Regions from separate parts of the Homo sapiens genome. Here region 2 is linked to region 1. Evidence: promoter capture Hi-C in human tissues and cell types (Jung and others, 2019). All regions are on one chromosome and are shown on one strand. The core of a region is centred on a gene start or on the middle of the fragment in contact, and the rest is flanking DNA. Distances in the headings are between cores, read along the strand shown. Region 1 holds the start of MYO15A (myosin XVA). Region 2 overlaps MYO15A (myosin XVA).

Region 1 (2,880 bases), core at 242-2,741:
CGGACACATTCAGGATGAGGTGAAACAGGCTGGCCCTGGTGAGAGGCTAGATGGGGCTGGGATGAGGGTGGAGACAAGTAGTCTTGGGGTTGGCTTGGTGCAGCTGGGGGGTGCGGGGAGTGTCTCTGAGGTGAGGCCGGGGGTATGGGAACGCCATGTTTGGTCTGGGACACGGTGGGCTTGGGATGGCTACAGGACAGTGCAGTGGAGAGTCAAAAAGGCTGCTCGGACCCAGGTCTGGCGAGATGGAAGCTGGAGGTCAGGTGAGCTGTCTAGGAGAGGGACAGAGTGGGAAGGAGAGGGTCTCGACTCGGCTTTCTTGCCAAAGGAGGGTTCCGAAATGAGAAACTGTGGAATCTAAGCTGGAGAGGAAGAAAGACGGAGAATGAGTGAACGCACACGTGTGGGACAGATAGATGAATATTCATGTCTTTGGCTCCTATGTACCTGAGTCTTCTAAAGCTGCAGGCCATACTACCCCCGGGAGGCTGCAGGGATGCCAGCTGGGAGATGAATGCAACTCTGCTGCCTGGGCATGGGCCTGAGTGAGGGTGCAGACCCCTGCCTGTGATCATCAGGGAGGGTGATGAGAACAAGGTGGCTGACAGGGTGAGGCCCAAGCCTGGAGCTTACCCAGGTGCGGGGATGGGAGGGTCAGAGACCTTTGGGGGGTCTTAGGGAGCTTCCCCAGCCCTAAAGGCACCGCAAGCTGCCACTTCACACTGACCTGGGCATACGCAGCTGCAGGATCCCTTGCTCGCTCTCTCACAAGCAAATGTAGACTGCGCAACCATCCTGACCACAGATCCAGAAAGCCCAGGACATAACAGAGCCGCAGTGCCTGCCCTGATCCACGCGCACACAGATCTAGCCCAGGAACAAGCCCATCCACGGTGAGGAACTTGTGGCCCAGTGGCTGGAGCCTCTCACCTGAGCCCTCACTGCCTGAGGACCCCCAGCCTCTGGCCTCATTTCCCACCCTTTGCCAGCCAGCCTTGGGGACAAAACAGGTCTGGATCTAATCCAAGGTCTGGACTCACCCTGACACCCTGTGAACTCAAGGCCTTCCCTACCTCACCCTGGGCCCAGAGCCCCTACCTGTAAAGTGGAAGTGGGAATGGCCACCAGCCAGGCAGAAACCCTCACTTAGGGCCTCATGGCCAGGCATCAGGACAGTCAGGAGAGGGGCCGAGGTAAGCCACAGAGGCCCTGCCTGTCTTGGTATCCCACCATCGCCAGGAGGGGACTGCATGGGCATCACACCCCTCACAGATGAACAAAGTGAGGCAGAGAAGGGCCTCAAGATGAGTTAGGGGCGAGGCCCCAGCTCTGCTGCTGCCCCTTCCCTTATCACCCCTGCAGCCTGGGATGCGAGGGTGGCCAGTGACAGACCCCAAGGACTCTAGGCTAAGGTCTCCTTACCTGCGTTCTGTGGCCTGCTCCCCGCCTGCATGCCGCCTCATGGGGGTCCTCTGGCTGGCCCAGGAGCACGGTTGGCCCAGCAGAGCAGCTCAGTGTTATGGGGAAGGGAGGCCCAGCCCACCACGCCGACCGCCTGGGGCCCTATGTATATTTAATGATGTCTATTATTCCTGTTTTGTCTCTGGAAAGGAGTGAGCAGCTGACAGGGGAGCCACGAACAGCCTGGAGAGCTGAGCATGGGCCTGCTCCACACTCCAGCGGGGCCCGAGGCCCCCGGGAACTCTACCCCTCCTGGCAGCCTCACAGAACCTGCTGCATCCATCTCAAAAGGCATACCTCCTCCAGGAAGCCTTCCCCGCTGCTCAGAGGTCTTAAATCCGGGGTCTGCACTCACAAACTGTGCAGCCTACACCAGCTTCTGGGGGACAGCAGAACACTGTGGGGGGCCTGGCACAGTCCCTGGCACACGGTAGGCACTCATCGAGCCCCTGCCAGCCCCTCTACTCCTGACTTCTGAGGCAACAGGAAATGACCCGCCACCTTGTTCTCACAGAGCCTCCCTGCCAGCCCAGATGGTCACAAGGGCCTCCTGGGATGCTGCCCACCTTGGCAGCCAGGCCCCTCCGGAGGGGCCAGTCTGGGCCTGACACCCCCGAACACCAACCCCCTGGGCAGAGCCTGCCTGTGCCTGGGTGAGGAACCCTGCAGTCTCCTTGCCACACAAGGCCTGGGTCTGCCTTGGGGCCCAGGCTGCACCCTCTCCGACCCCCAGGCCCAATGTCTGACCTGTGCCCACCTGACTCAACCTGGCTACTGTTCAGCAAGTTTACAAAGTGTTCTCAGTCTGAACAGGAACCGTTTTCAATCCTTTATTTCAGAAAGGAGAGCCAGGAGAACTGGGGACTTAGAAAATACAGATCCTAAACTCAAAAGTCCCTGCCCCAGGCGTGCAGAGCCAGGGTCCTGGGGTTTTGTGCTGGGCAGGGGCTGCCCTGGGAGGGGGAATACAGGGGGAGGCACTTTAGGACACCCCTTAGGCTGTGGAGGGTGTCAGCTGGGCCTTTGAAGCCACTAACCACTGGTTCCCATCATGGAGAGCCCTGTGTGGGGCACCCAAGGGGGTTTCCTCCTGGAAGGGCCCCCAACCCAAGTGTCAGAGAAGCTGGCAAGAGCTGAGGGAGTGAGGTGCCATGACAGCAGCCACAGCCTCCAGGGACCCAAACAGGCCCAGCTACCAGCCTGGCACTGAGCATGCCATCTGCTTTAGGCCCTGGCTGGCGGGCATGTGGGCAACTTGCTCCCTCAGTGCAGGGGGCTGGGAGGCACAGATGCAGGCTCAGCACTACAAACTCAAAACCCCCATGAGAGGGCTCAGTCTTATGGGAAATGCCTCCAACCGAGCCCCTTTGCCCCAACACACTCTTCGTCTGCCTACTGAAGAAACTTCTGTAAATAGCA
Region 2 (2,880 bases), core at 108-2,607, 70 kb before region 1:
GCCTCAGCCTCCCAAAGTGCTGAGATTACAAGTGTTAGTCACCATGCCCGGCCCAGAAATCCTAAATTCTTTTTTTTTTTTTTTTTTTTTTTTGGAGATGGAGTCTCACTCTGTCACCCAGGCTGGAGTGCAGTGGCATGATCTTGGCTCACTGCAACCTCTGCCTCCCAGGTTCAAGCCATTCTCCTGCCTCAGCTTCCTGAGTAGCTGGGATTACAGGGGCAGGCTGCCCCTGTATATTATTCTTATTTTAGTAGAAACGGGGTTTCACCGTGTTGCCCAGGCTAGTCTCGAACTGCTGAGCTCAGGCAATCCGCCTGCCTCAGCCTCCCAAAGTGCCGGGATTACAGTCATGAGCCACTGCGCCTGGCCCAGAAATCCTAAATTCTTAATGTAGCCCAGAAGCCCTATCGAAACCATCTTTGCCGGCCTCTTCAGTCTCAGATCCTGCTACAAGTAATGCGCACCTCAGGGCCCCTGCGTATGTTGTTCTCTTTCCTCTTTCCCTAGCTAACTCCCACTCACAGGTCTTATCCTAGTTTGCGGTGATTTGACTGTGATTAACTGCCAGTGCCTGGTATTTGCCTCATTCACAGTAGGTATTTAATAGCTATTGAATGGCTGAATAAGTAGATAAATCCTTTCTCTGCTGCCATGGATCTTGCAGCTATGCCCCCATCTACCTATCTAGTCTCCCCAAGTGTTCTCTGCCCCGCACAAGCTCCCCAAAGCACCAGCACTTTCTATCAACATTCACTCGTTTATTTTTTCATTCATATGACAAATATTTTTTAAGTGCTTACTCTCTGTTAGGCATCCTCCTAGGTTCTGGAAGATACAGCAGGGAATAAACATGATTTTCTCTGGAATGTTTATCCTGCTGTCTTCCATCTATTCTTAGCAAACTCCTACTCATCTTTCAAAACTCAATGCTAATGTCCCATTTTCCAAGAAGGCTTTTCCCAAACTTCTCCCTTGTACCACTCTCAAACTTGTGTGGCCCATCAAGTGATGGGGGTCTGGGGTTGGGGATACCCAAGGAGTGGGGGATGGTCTGTTCATAGGCAGTGAATCAGGGGCCTAAGGTAACTCCAACTCCTGCCTCCTCCCTCAGGCTTGTTTTCCGGCCACTTAGCAACTCCATGGAGAAATGGCTGCCAGGCACACCTTTTGTTTGCACAGAAATAACCAAAGACCAGAAATCCAGGCTGACTGGCAGCACAAGGAGGGGCCCCTTAGGAGGACATGTAAGGGCTAGGGTGTGGAGTTGGAGCAGATTCCAACATCAGACCCTGAGTAAACCAAAGGCAGAGGCCAGTTCATCTGGGCAACTGGTGTGGGGCTTCTGTGTCATAGGCAGGAGTTAGGGGCAGGGTCTGCAATGGGTACATGGCAGGAGGCCTCATGGTCCTGCCTTCTGCTCCACTGCACAGTGGGCCAGACTTTTGAAAGTTCCTCCTGCTATCTGATCCAAGTTTGCATGCTGCCATTCCATCCCAGTTCAGGATGGGTCTTCTTGTGTTCTTGGGGATTTGAGTTGCTCCTCCTGCCTCCTCTTAGTGTCCTCCAAGGCTCTGGCCCCTTACAGGGGTCATTGATCCTGAGAGGTTCAGTGATTTCTCTGAGGCCACACAGTGAGTCTTCTGGCAGAAGGTACTGGAGGGCTGGGGGCTGGGTCAGAGCAGGGTGATCTCGCTGGGGGGCAATGTGAGCCGCTTCTCATGGGCACTGAGCAGGTTCTCCACGTGCACGGCCACCACACGACACAGTTCCAGTCCCTGCAGGTGACAGTGACAGTCCACGCCCATCCAACACTTCCCCAGCTCTTACCTTGGGGTGGGAAGTACAGAATGGAGAGGTGGTTGGGAGATAGGTGGAGACCATCATTCATGCAGGGACCCTTGTCCCCACCTCCCCCAGGGCCTGAGAGGAGCATGAAGAGCTGGAAGGCCGAATGGTGGGGTGTGGGCTGCAAGGGGTAAGCAAGCAGGAGACCAAGTGCCTCTTCCGGCTTTGCTCCGTGTGAGCTGTGTGACCCAGGGTCTATCGCTTCACCTCTCTGAGCCTCAGTGGCCTCATCTGTAAGGTCTCAATTGACCAGGGGCCTGCCTCACAGACAGGGCTGTGGTGAGGATTCAGTGAGGCTTTATTGCATGTAAATTCTTTTTTTTTTTTTCCTAGATGGAGTTTCGCTCTGTCGCCAGGCTGGAGTGCAATGGCGCGATCTCGGCTCACTGCAACCTCCGCCTCCCAGGTTTAAGCGATTCTCCTGCCTCAGCCTCCCGAGTAGCTGAGACTACAGGCATGCACCACCACGCCCAGCTAATTTTTGTATTTTTAGTAGAGACGGGGTTTCACCATGTTGGCTAGGATGGTCTCCATCTCTTGACCTCATGATCTGCCCACCTCGGCCTCCCAAAGTGCTGGGATTACAGGCATGAGCCACCGCGCCCGGCCACGTGTAAATTCTTTAGATTTAAAAAATATGAATCCAATCAATAAATGGTAACAGTTTCTAACTGTCTGTTGCCATGGTTACCGCCTGGCTCCCACAGTGCACAATGGGCAGTGACCCAGGCTTAGTGCTCCCAATTGGAGCAGGGTAGGGGAAGGCATCAGGGAATTGCGGAAATCAATCTGTGAATGTGGTTCTCAGACGAAAGCCATTGTTGGAATCCCCCCAGGGAAGCTGCTCTGAGAAAGGATAAAATCATGTTAGAGGCGCACTCTGAGTGTTAACTGTGTGCCAGGCCTTGTCCTAAAGGCCTGATGTGTCCTACCTGTTTTAATCCCCACAGTGTCTCTAAGAGACAGGAGCTATTATATCCCATTCCACAGGTGGGGAAACAGGCACCGAGCCTTGAAGCTCCAGACTGCACA

Evidence for each region. Contacts are between HindIII fragments. The study calls those that stand out against the background at their distance.
Region 2: a contact is called between a fragment that was not itself captured here and the fragment with the promoter of MYO15A in region 1, in 3 of the 25 tissues and cell types used here (dorsolateral prefrontal cortex, mesenchymal stem cells and psoas muscle).

The regions. Positions count from the first base shown.
Region 1 is chr17:18,107,367-18,110,246 of GRCh38, reverse strand. MYO15A (myosin XVA) reads right to left here and starts at 1,491. Exons shown (of 66, transcript NM_016239.4): 1 at 1,423-1,491. DRG2 (developmentally regulated GTP binding protein 2) reads right to left here. Exons shown (of 13, transcript NM_001388.5): 13 at 2,278-2,880. LOC105371566 (a long non-coding RNA gene) reads left to right here. Exons shown (of 3, transcript NR_164159.1): 3 at 1,612-2,556. RefSeq lists an enhancer at 2,548-2,880. The HindIII fragment of the contact is 16,274 bases long and covers 1-2,880 here.
Region 2 is chr17:18,177,667-18,180,546 of GRCh38, reverse strand. It overlaps MYO15A (myosin XVA), which reads right to left. Exons shown (of 66, transcript NM_016239.4): 66 at 747-1,778. The coding sequence ends at 1,677. Among named protein-coding and RNA genes, the nearest start is that of ALKBH5, 4.7 kb to the left of the region's middle. The HindIII fragment of the contact is 6,024 bases long and covers 1-2,880 here.